Linked DNA regions of Homo sapiens: regions 2 and 3 are each linked to region 1. Evidence: promoter capture Hi-C in human tissues and cell types (Jung and others, 2019). All regions are on one chromosome and are shown on one strand. Each heading gives the region's core, a stretch centred on a gene start or on the middle of the fragment in contact. The rest is flanking DNA. Distances are from core to core; before and after follow the strand shown. Region 1 holds the start of SFMBT2 (Scm like with four mbt domains 2). Region 2 has its middle 25 kb from the start of LINC02649. Region 3 overlaps LOC101928080 (a long non-coding RNA gene).

Region 1 (3,544 bases), core at 842-3,341:
CGAGCAAGGGACAATTTCTTCCCCAAACGCTGTCCCCATCCCCCACCTTCCCTAGAGCGCGAAACCCAAAAGTAAGGAAGGCAACCCCTCGCCTCGACCCTACGTGCTTGTCTCCCAGAGCCGCGCGCTCCCGCCCTTCTGCCCCACCCCACCACCACCACCACCACTTTGGTCTTCTCCAAGCTTCGGTCCCGGTCCCCCACCTCCCACCCCAGAGCGGCGTGGAGGAAAGCAGGAGCCCACTATTAAGTGCAGCGCGCCCCCTGCACACACGAAATCCGGCTGGCGTCTGCAGCCCGATTGCACCCAATACCCGGGACAGTTAGTCCTTTTAATAAGCACCTCCTCGCCCCACCTACTCGGGGATCTACCCGCGCAGGATCCAGCACACACAAGGCGAGAGCTAGCTCGTCTCCTAGAAAGACAAAATAAATCACTCCCTCTGCCCTCATGTACTTTACACCACGTGTCCGCAGTTTGTCACGTCAAATCATGGCAGGGTCTGGTTCCAAGACGCACACACACATTCGGGGTGGTTCTCTTTGACACACACACCCAAAAAAACTGCGCACACGCAGGCCTGCACACTAATCCACAGGCACACACGACAGTTGCGTTTCGGTGCCCTGGTCCGGGCCAGGGGCACTTCTCCATCCCTTTCCCCCCTAGCAATGGACTTGACACACAGACTCTAACCACGGAAAAAAAAAACCGGACAGCCCATTCCTTCTTTTTTTCCCCACTTAATTCGCTAAAGCGCTTCCTGGGGTAGCCAAAGAGAGTCGAAACTAAGGGGTGGAAACTTCAGCTGGGTTTTTTCCCACCTCAAAACCTTTATTTTCAGTTTTTAAAAGCCACCTTAGCCCGCCATATTGAAACTGGCACGGTTTCTAAAGACTCCTTCCCCGCAGTTGTGGCGCTTCCAAGAAAACACGAGTACGGATCAGGCTCTGGATGAGTGTCCGGCCACCGAGAATCAGCCACTTCCCACCCTCCAGGATCCCCCAGCTCCCTCCAGCCCCTTCCCACCGCCCCTGGTCAAAATCAATAAATACATCTCGCAGTTCCTACAGTTGCATTTTGGCGGATTTCTGCAAAACATACACACACATACACATACCCACGCACGCATATTAAAAAATAAACTCCAGAACCAGCTCAAGTCAGCAATTTTGAAAGGGGGTCGAATAAGAGGAGACAACCGGAAAGCCCCTAAGTGACAGGATATTACTTTAAAGAGAAAATAATGAACAAAAAGACCATCCTCGCTGGAGCACGCTCCAAAACTACTACTGCCAATTTTATTTCAGTTGCTCAGGCAAATGTTTCCAAGGGAGCGATTCCGAATGTCTGCACGATTTTTACCCCCATGCCGGTCTCCGATTCCCCGTCCTCACCATCTTTTTCTCCCACCCAAACCAAAAGAAAGGGGAGACCCCAGCGCGGAGGAGACGCGGGAGCGCGGGGTAGGTAGCAGCGGCGGCTGCGTCGCTAAAATGAGTGCAGAAACGAGGAAGGTGGGCGGCGGGAGGGGACAGGCTGCGCCCGGGGAAGGAGGACACTTTGCAACTCCGGACGGACTCCCGCACGGCTCGGCTTTTCCGAGCCCGGAGACGCAGGCGAAGGGGACCCGGGAAGCAAAAATGACAACCTGGAGCGCACAGAGGAGTTTGAAGCTTCGCTCAAGTGCAGTCGCTTTCTTCTCCTGCCCTTCTCTTTCGCTCCCCTGCACCCTCCCCAGCCTTCCCCCACCCGCCACCTCCAACCCCAGCTCCCTCAGGCTTCCTTCCTTTTTTTTTTTTTCCTTTTTTTTCCTAGGCTGGAAAAAGCCCCTGACCAGCGCACTCAACCTGCGGGCCGAAGGGCTGCTCTCCGGCCAGCCTGGGCGCCGGGGACAGCAGCCGGCGCGGCGTCCTACCTGGTGAAGTTCGTCCTGCCCTCGGCGTGGACCCAGGCCCCGGTCGCCGCCCGGGAGGGCACCGGCCTCGCTCGCTTGCTCGCTCGCCCGCCCTTGCCCGCTCGCTCCCCGCCCGCCGCCTCCCTCGCGCGCCCGCTCCGGTCCTCCGGCTCCCACTACAGCTCATTCCAATATGGCATCCTCTCTGTGCGCATGCTCGGCGCTCTTTTTTTTTTTTTTTTTTTTTTTTTTTTAAGATTTTGTGTGTGTGTGTATGTGTGTGCGTGCGCGTGCAGCGAACTCCTTCAACGACCTTTTCCAGCGCTTGCAAAATTTCTTAAGCCAATTAGCCTGCGGGACGTGATCGGCTCCTTCCCCAGCCAGCTCCGCGCCATTCCCTGCGCCTAAGCAGGCGGGCACCCCCAGGACCCTGGGACCTTCCACGCCCACGCGGCCTCCTCCCCACCGCGCTCCCCTTCCTCCTTTTTGTGAGCTCCCTCCATACATGATCTGCAGAAAGTTCCCATCGCGGGCGTTTCCGCACACCCCTCCGCAAGGACAACTGGGCAAACTCCCGTTTCCCTGGCTGCGGTTCGTGAGCTGGGTTTCCAATGGCTCAGTCGACCGTGTGCACAAACTTGCGCTTTATCCGCCGGGGATCGCTGGGAGCGGAGATAAATTCAATCCCCAGGGCAATCTTGGCCCCGCCCGCCCCACCCCATCCTGTGCTTAAATAGAGCCTTTCTTGAAGCTGCGAACATTTCCAGGCCCCTTGGGCAGGGCTGGAGGGGCCGAGGAGAGCTATTCGAGGGAAAGGTGCCCCGAGGGGCAGGAAATTAAGTTGGGGCTGCCCGGGCGAGCTGCCAGGTAGCCGTGCTCGCCACGGCGTCTCATGGGGCACCTAGCTAGTGGCGGGCCTCATAGGGCGGGAAAAGAATCGTCGCTCACACCCCAGCAAAACGTGGCCCTCGACGGTCCGTTGGAGAGCCCCGGCGGCCGTGAGCCCCGGGCAGGGCTGGACGTCTGCGGAGCCCTCGGGCACTTTGTCCCGGGCGCCTGGGGAGGAACGCGGAGCTCCCAGGGCCTTAGGTGCAACGGCTGCGCAGAGCCCAAACGAAATGTCCCCAGTGCGGAAAAGCCGGTGACGCCCTGGTAGCAAGACCAAGAGCTTCCGAAGAACGCTGCGCCCTTAACTAGGGGGCCTCGCAGAGATGCCTGTGTGGGCCTGCATTGTATATTTCTGCGAAATAGCGAATGGACACGTTTGCTCAGGGTTTTTATGGTTGCCAAAGGGGGTAAAATTACCCAGTCCCCCAAATCTGTGTCCCATGAATCCCTCTCATAGTACCCCTCTCCAGGGGGCCAAGAGGTCCTCCAGGTCCCCGTGGGTTCGCAGCTCCACCCGCCCTTCCTCGCCCTGCATCCCTAAGGAGAGGTGTCCGCTCTGAAGGGCTAGGGGCCAGCCATGGAGTGAGGGGACCGGGGCTGACCACGCGCGGCACAGACAGAGGTCCTCAGGCGGGCCCTCTCCTGGACGGTGGGGCCGGAGCTGATCTAGAAGAAATACGGAGGGACGTGCCGAGAAGCCGCTCTCCTTCGCCGCGACCCTGGAGAGCGCCTCTCCACCCAAAGGATCTGCCGAGCTGA
Region 2 (3,695 bases), core at 743-3,242, 1.1 Mb before region 1:
GTCAGTGTGCCGTGAGTCACAGGCTGCGGGAGGTGAACTTGAGCCTCACTCCGGCATTGATCTTTCGCAGGGATATATTGTTAGTTCCCGTCTGTTAAGACCGATAAAGGGTAATAATTTACTGGCCTCAAGTTTGTCTTCTCTTTGATTTCACCAAATCTTCTCCTTATACAGGAATTGCTTGACCTTGACTTTTCAGGAATTTACCCAATTTTATACTCTTGGCGTCTCCTGGGCTTAGAACCCCTTACCTCCAACCTTGCTCCCTGGCTAACTTCTACCCTTCCTTCAAAGCTCAGCAGAGATGGCACCCCCTTTCTGAAACAGTCCCCAGTTCCTGGGAAGAGTGAAGGCCTGAAGCTGTGTTGAGGGTGGCACTTAGCCCCTGGTTTGGAGCTCCATGTTTCCTTCACTGTCTGCTGAACATTTTAAGGCGTCGATTTGGACTTTCCTAGGCTTGCATTCCCAGAGCCTAGTGCAGTGCCTGTTCAGAAGACTTTTTTTTTTTTTTTTTTTTTTTTTTTTAGTGAAGAGGGAGGAATGTTAAGCCTCACCAAGTCTGATTATGCTAAGATCACTTAAATTTTTTCTGCCTTTTCAGAATACCCATTGTAGTTAGGGTTAGTACCCATGGTTTGGCACTTACTGGTTCTGTGGTTGTTGGGTGCCTTGTTTGTCTCTTCGGGCGAGATGCGAGTCACTCCAGGGCAGCATCTGTTCCTCATATTCCTCTCACATTCTTTAAAGCCTCCCTGTGTGCACTCAAGCCACACAATGAACCTTCCTGCCTTTGCCCACAAGGCTGAGAACTCTTCAAAGTGAGACTGTGTCTTACGCATTTTCACTTCCTCCATCATTTGACACAGGACCTGGCACGTAACAGATGTTTAATAAATACTTGTATTTATTGAATAGGAATAGGTAGTAGATTCTAGAGACATAGTGAGCTCAGCTCAAGTTCAGTTGCATCAGGGAAGGCTCCCCCATGCCCCCGGCAGCTCCCTCTCTCTGTGCCTATGCAACCTTTAGCAGCATGAGCTGCCTTGAAAAGTCAAAGCCAGCTTTTCCAGAAAGCAACTCAGCAACTCTCTCCTGGGGCCAGAACTGCTCCGAAACGGGAACAGCTGTGTATATTCTTTGATCGTTAGCAGGAAACGATGTGTCGTGTCTCAAAGCACCTTTTCATGCTGCTTTCTTATTAACTCCACCCAGAAGCCCTTGCCTTAGCAAAGCCAGTCTCGCGAGGCACCGTGGAAGTCCAGAGTTGAGTGCAGCTGGGTTTGATTCATTCCTGGGCTTGATTTCTGGAATCCTCCTAGATTCCTTCCTGGGTTTGAGTTCTGGAAGCCTTGGTTTCTTGAGGCGATTATGCTGTAGGTACTAGAGAGAAGCTACTGCCTTTGAGAGAAGGGTAATTACGCAGGATTTGAAAGGAGACAGGAAGCTGTGGGTGCCAGAAATAGAGGAATCTTGTTCTTTTATTTTTGGCAACATCCAGCAAGGTGGGAGGACACCTGAGGGGAGTGCCTTTCTGGTGCACCATGGAGGCTGGTCCGTAACAGTGGAAGCTGCCATCTTGCAGAAGATTCCTCTGCCCAAGCTTGGCATGGCCAGACTTCGTGGGCCATGTGAACATGAGATGATATCTTGCTCTGTGTGCCTTCCTATAATTTGGGGGGAGATGTTGACTAGGAGGAGGCATCCACCATTGGGCTTTTCATTATCTCAATGGAATGGTGACTTGGAATTGACTTTGACTCAAGGAAATAAAGTAAGATGAGGATTTACACATACCTAGATTAGGAAACTAACCTTTATACCTAGTACATATGTACACCTGTAAGGCATCTGGTACAGTCCCTGGGTGCTTCAGGGACTTCATAAAGGTGCATTTCCTTCACCCTTACTTATAAATAATGGTCGATGCATATTCTTAGATCATTTGAGATACATCCTTAAAAACTGTTGAGCATTGATCAAAATTTGTTTTGGAAATAAACTTGTTTTTAGTGCCCCAGAGAAGCACATTGTTTCCTAAAGTGAAGAATCCTCATTGAAGATGAATTGTGCTAATCTGGATTTTCAGGTTTTTTACTTACTGCAATAACAGATAGATTGAGGAAAGTACCCTTTTATTTTCTCTGGAAAGCACTGATGGATGTAACTGATGACAACTTGACCCAGTAGGGCAGTTCGTCTGCCCTCAAGAGCAGCTCAGCTCAAAGGGCGGTGTGGGGATCGCCAAGTGTGATGGAGGCAAGTCCCAGGTGAAAGGGAGCTCTAATTCATCAGGATTCCTCTATCTTTATAAGAGAAGCTAATTTCAAATCACTTCCTTCGTTATGACTAAATTTCAGGAAATGAGGATCACATTATTCCAGTGCAGAGAACTGGGCTGAGAGTCACATGCTTTATTATCTGCTCTGATTAATGACTAACCAACCTCGTAAGTTCCCCACCACACAGGTTAGTGACTGGATGATCATTTTGCTTTATCCACTTCCTAACAGGAGGAAACAGAGAAGTGAGCTAACTTTGTTATTTATACGAAGGTAACATACTTGCGATTTTTCTTTTCTTTTCTTTTTCTTTTTTTTTTTTGAAACAGAGTCTTGCTCTGTCACCCAGGCTGGAGTGCAGTGGCATGATTTTGGCTCACTGCAACTTCTGTCTCCCAGGTTCAAGCGATTCTCCTGCCTCAGCCTCTTGAATAGCTGGGATTACAGGTATGCGCCACCACATCCAGCTAATTTTTGTATTTATAGTTGAGGTGGGGTTTTACCATGTTGGTCAGGCTGGTCTCGAACTCCTGACCTCAGGCGATCCACCTGCCTCGGCCTCCCAAAGTGCTGGGATTACAGATATAAGCCACTGCCACCGTGCCTGGCCAGTTTTTTTTTTTTTTTTTTTTTTTTTTTTTTTTTTTTTGAGACGGAGTCTTGTTCTGTTGCCCAGGCTGGAGTGCAGTGGTGCAACCTTGGCTCACTGCAACCTCCACTTCCTGGGTTCAAGCAATTCTCCTGCCTCAGCCTCCCAAGTAGCTGGGATTACAGGTGCCTGCCACCACACCCAGCTAATTTTTGTATTTTAGTAGAGACGGGGTTTCACCATGTTGGCCAGGCTGGTCTCGAACTCTTGACCTCAGGCAATCCACCTGCCTCGGCCTCCCAAAGTGCTGGGATACAGGCATGAGCCACCGTGCCCGGCCCATACTTGTGGTTTTTCTATACCTATCTTCCTTTCTGGTGGGAGCCCAAAATAAAAATATGTGTGTGTATACACACACACACACACACACACACACACACATATACACATACACATATATATATATATTTGTGTGTGTGTGTGTTTTATGTGATCTTTCTTGGCTTTTGCATTGAGAAAGTCATCTTTGAAATTTAGAAAAACTGTCAGACTGTTGGAAGGCACCTTGGACATGGCGTCTCCCCAGTGCCTTCTTTATGCATAGAAAGGGCGCTCGAGGTAACGGGATGTCATGACTCTTGTGAGATAACACAGGAGCGGAGCAGAGATGAGAACTCAGGCCTCCTGTCATCTGTCCAGGGCATGTGGGTAAGATCAAGCGTAGGACTGGCTTTATAAAGCACAAATATTTGTTTGTCAGCAACTGTTTGTTTATTACTTCATTTTTGTTTTTCTCTTCTAAAATTCACCCTAAACTCTTTTATGAT
Region 3 (3,893 bases), core at 201-2,700, 1.3 Mb before region 1:
AAAGGGCATTTGCTCCTCACATTTGGCCACTGATGAACACTGTCTGCATGTTACAGGTGAGGAAACAGGTGGAGGAAGGGAGTGCCCGGAGCAGAGGCCCCGCCCCGCCCCCACGGCCTGGCTCTCCCGCCTGGTTTAGTTTGGCCTCTAAAGCGTCCTCATTACAAGCAAAGTGCAGCCCCACCACAGAGAATCCCGTTTCTCTCTGGGAGTGCTTATGTGATTAATTTGAAGTCACCATGACTCTGATTTCCTCTGCAGAATTCAGCAGCGTATTCCAGGATTCCAGGAGCGCAATGCAGTAGAAAGCAACCACTTGGCCCAGGAGACTGAGACTAATTTCTGGGAAAGAGGCAGCCAGGCTCCTCGGCCTTATGCAGGTCATGAAGACTCAGTACATTGAAATTGAAGGTCCTCAGTTCCCAGCTAAGCGAGCCTCCAAGGACTGTGACGTCCCAACCTTCGGATGAGGATGGAGGCGGGAGGAGACACAGCGCCGGCCAGGAGACCTGGTGTTGGGGCTCTGCCCCTGGTCTGGCTGAGCAATCCGGGCAAGTCACTACCCTGGCCGAGGCCAGCTTTGTCGGCAGAGAAATGGGTGAATGCTGCCTCCGCTTGAATCCAGAGTTTGTCAGGATGCTATGGAAAAAATTATATGAAGGTTCTTTGCAACATTAAAAAAAATAATAAAATAAAATAAACCTGTTGCATATTTGCCAGGGGCTGGGCTTTCTGAGAGTGGACAGGGAACAGCTGAGCGTGCTTGACGGCTCTGGGGTCCTCAGGGCCTCCGTCTCCCCTGTGACACTGTCCTGGGCTCAGCGGGCTGTGGAGGCCCCAAGTGACGCTGTGAACAGCTGGCAAGAGCCTTTCCCGGACTCTACAGCCTCCCTGTGGCCCCTCGTTCCTTATGAAGGAAGGGATGGCTGCCCGACCTGTGGGTCCTGGGCACTGTCCTGCTCCCCTGGTTGTGGAGTTGCCAGGACGGCGGGACAATCAACACAACGCTCTTCTTCTTCTGTCGGGGACATCACCACAGAGAAGAAAAGAGCCTCTCCCTAGAGAGAAATCCTGATGTCTGAAACTTCAGCTGAATGGAGGAGAAAGGATAATTCATCACCTTTCCCCAGAGCCAGGGCAGCACGTAGGAGCTGCGTTTTGAGGGGAGGATGACAGAAAGAGTGCACACAGCACACCAGCTGTGCTAGGGCTGGGCCAGGCCAACCGTGGGCCCTTGGGGAGCCCATGCCCCCCACCAGCAGCCTGCTGCCAGGTTCCTGGGCCCGTGTGTGCGCCTCCTCCCAGGTGTTCAGCTCGGCTCTGACCTAGGAGCTGCCAGGAAGGGCTGTGCAGATGGAATTAAGGTCCCCATGAGTTGACTGTAAGATGGGAGATTGCTGGGGGCCGGAGTCCTTTAAGGCAGAGAGCTTTCTCCTGCAGGACCCAGAAGAAGACATCAGTGTTCAAAGCACGAGAAAGATCCAACCTGCCCTTGCCCCTGCGGAAGGAGGAGCCACGTGGCATGGAACGAGGGTGGCCTCTAGGAGTGACCCCGCTGACAGCCAGCGAGGAAATGGGGACCCTATTCCCACTCCACAGGAACTGAATTGTGCCCACAAGGAGGAGCTGGGAAGTGGAGTTTTCTCCAGAGGTTCCTGATGAGAACTCAGCTAGTCAGCACCTTGATCTCCGCTGGGCGAGGTCTGTGCAGAGCCACAGGCAGGCAGTGTGACTTCTAACCTTCAGAATCGGGAGCTAATGAAGGGGTGGGGCTTAAACCACAAAATTTCTGTGTGTGTGTGTGTGTGTTTTTTTGTTTTTTTAAAAAAAGAACACTACATAGCAATAGAAAGTAAACGAACATCCCCTGCATTAAATTGCACATGTATTGAAGTTCAGTAGATGTAAATTAGCACAGCTGTCTCTTCTTTCCTGAAAGCATTTTTTTTGTTTTGTTTTGTTTTAGAAACACAGTCTCACTCTGTTGCGCAGGCTGGAGTGCAGTGGTGCGATCTCAGCTCACGGCAACCTCCACCTCCCTGGTTCAAATGATTCTCCTGCCTCAGCCTCCTGAGTAGCTGGGACTACAGGCGTGTACCACCATGCCCGGCTAATTTTTGTATTTTTAGTAGAGATGGGGTTCCACCGTGTTAGCCAGGATGGTCTCGATCTCCTGACCTCTGGTGATCTGCCTGCCTTGGCCTCCCAAAGTGCTGGGATTACAGACATGAGCCACCATGCCGGCCCTGAAAGCATTTATTTTGAAACAATTTCAAACTGAAAAACACCTCTATCCTCTTCTCCCACACTGACCAATTGTTCCTCACCAGTTGTCTATGTATTTGCTAAATCATTCTGTGTGTGTGTATCATGTGCGAGTGCGTATTTTTTTTCTGAGCCATCTGAGCCCATTTACCCCTACAAAGAAAGAAATTCATTTATATAAGCACATAAAAAATTCAACCCTGATGAAATGTCTATTCTATAGACCTAATGTGAAGTATGAATATGCCCACTTTACAGACGGACAAACTAAGGTGGAAAAGTTACATGCCTTACCCAAAGCCACACAAATGGTAAGTGGCAAAACCAGGTTCCACCTTGAAATCCTGGGCTCTTTTCCTTGTGTTCTGTCCGTTTCAATTGGGGTCCAGTCGGAACAAGATAAACTACTCTGGGTGTTTCGAAGAGCTGAGATTTAATATAGGAAGCCCTGTAACTGTAGGAAGCCAAAGCTATTCCTTTGGGGGACTCAGAGAGGGGAATGGTGTCACCCAACAGCCCAAGAATGTACTCAGCACCCCAGCTCTCAAAGCTTCAGGAAGGGAGAGACCCCCTCCACCTCCTGCTGAGCAGGAGCCCAGGAGCCGCCCCCTGCACCCCGGGCTGACCTGCCAGAGCCTGAAGTCACCAGCTTCCCGTCACTGCTCAAGCGAAGTGGGGGTCTGAATTCACAGCTTCGCCATCAGCTATTGGGGGACCCGCACGAGTCATTTAGCCTGCGAATGCCTCATTCCTCTGTAAAATGGGGCATCTGGTTTAGATGAGCTGTAAGTTTCATTCCAGTTCTGAAATGACTAATTCTTCCCTCATTGTGTTCTTTGACTTTGAACAACTCATGCCTCTGTTTTGCGCCTCCTCTTTTTCAGTAGCCTCTTTAGATCCGATAGCAGTCCAAGGGGAGGCAAGGGAGCCTGGGGTGGTGGAGGACACCCGCGATGACCAACCCGTGTGCTTGCCACGGCTGGCTTCTGCTCCAAAGGCACCCTCTCCTCTTCTCCACACCCCATCCCCTCTTCTTTCTCTCTTGCTCCTCATCTGAGCTCCTTTCCTAGGTTGGGGAATTCCCCACCTTACAGACTTATTTTAGTTAGTTATTCATAACTAGGTATGTCTTACCATGGAGGCAGCAGTAGCTGCTGAAACCATCAGATACTTCCCCAGCCTTCCCTGCAGCTAAGGGGGTGAGGTTGAGACCTCCACGGGGGGAGCCAGAAGCTCCTGCCCAGCCTCTTAAGGTAACTCAAGAGACAAAGGAGCAGGCTCAAGAGGCGGTGCCCCCATGCGGATCTAGCGTCCTGAGTTTGCCAGAGCCGCCCTCTGATGTGAATTTGGCCAGAGTTCTGGCAGCTTTGGCTAGTTCTCCTGACTTTCTCCCAAACCTGTGAGCTACTCGATACCCTCCAATAAATTCCTCTCTGATTTAATCACCCAGAGTTGGATCCCTAGCTTGCAGCCAAAACTCCTGACTGACACACATGTTATCTCATGCAATGCTCACAGCCACCCTAGGGGCAGGTGTTATTATTGTCTCCATTTTACAGATGAGGAAACTGAGGCACAGTGAGGCCAAGGAGCTTGCATATGAAGTCACGTAGCTGTGAGGGGCGGCA

The links. The method cuts DNA at HindIII sites, captures the fragments that hold promoters and counts their contacts. A contact is called where the count stands out against the background at its distance.
Region 2: a fragment that was not itself captured here is called in contact with the fragment with the promoter of SFMBT2 in region 1 in 1 of the 25 tissues and cell types used here (dorsolateral prefrontal cortex).
Region 3: a fragment that was not itself captured here is called in contact with the fragment with the promoter of SFMBT2 in region 1 in 1 of the 25 tissues and cell types used here (dorsolateral prefrontal cortex).

Annotation. Positions count from the first base shown.
Region 1 is chr10:7,408,943-7,412,486 of GRCh38, forward strand. It overlaps SFMBT2 (Scm like with four mbt domains 2), which reads right to left and starts at 2,092. Exons shown (of 21, transcript NM_001387889.1): 1 at 1,919-2,092. RefSeq lists a silencer at 1,966-2,105 and enhancers at 2,341-3,261, 3,262-3,544. The HindIII fragment of the contact is 7,941 bases long and covers 930-3,544 here.
Region 2 is chr10:6,299,472-6,303,166 of GRCh38, forward strand. It overlaps a transcript of PFKFB3 not described here. Among named protein-coding and RNA genes, the nearest start is that of LINC02649, 25 kb to the right of the region's middle. RefSeq lists an enhancer at 1-615. The HindIII fragment of the contact is 4,169 bases long and covers 1-3,695 here.
Region 3 is chr10:6,133,423-6,137,315 of GRCh38, forward strand. The region is part of intron 1 of LOC101928080 (a long non-coding RNA gene); the gene reads right to left. Among named protein-coding and RNA genes, the nearest start is that of MIR3155A, 17 kb to the right of the region's middle. RefSeq lists enhancers at 712-1,260, 1,261-1,808, 3,151-3,450. The HindIII fragment of the contact is 7,054 bases long and covers 1-3,893 here.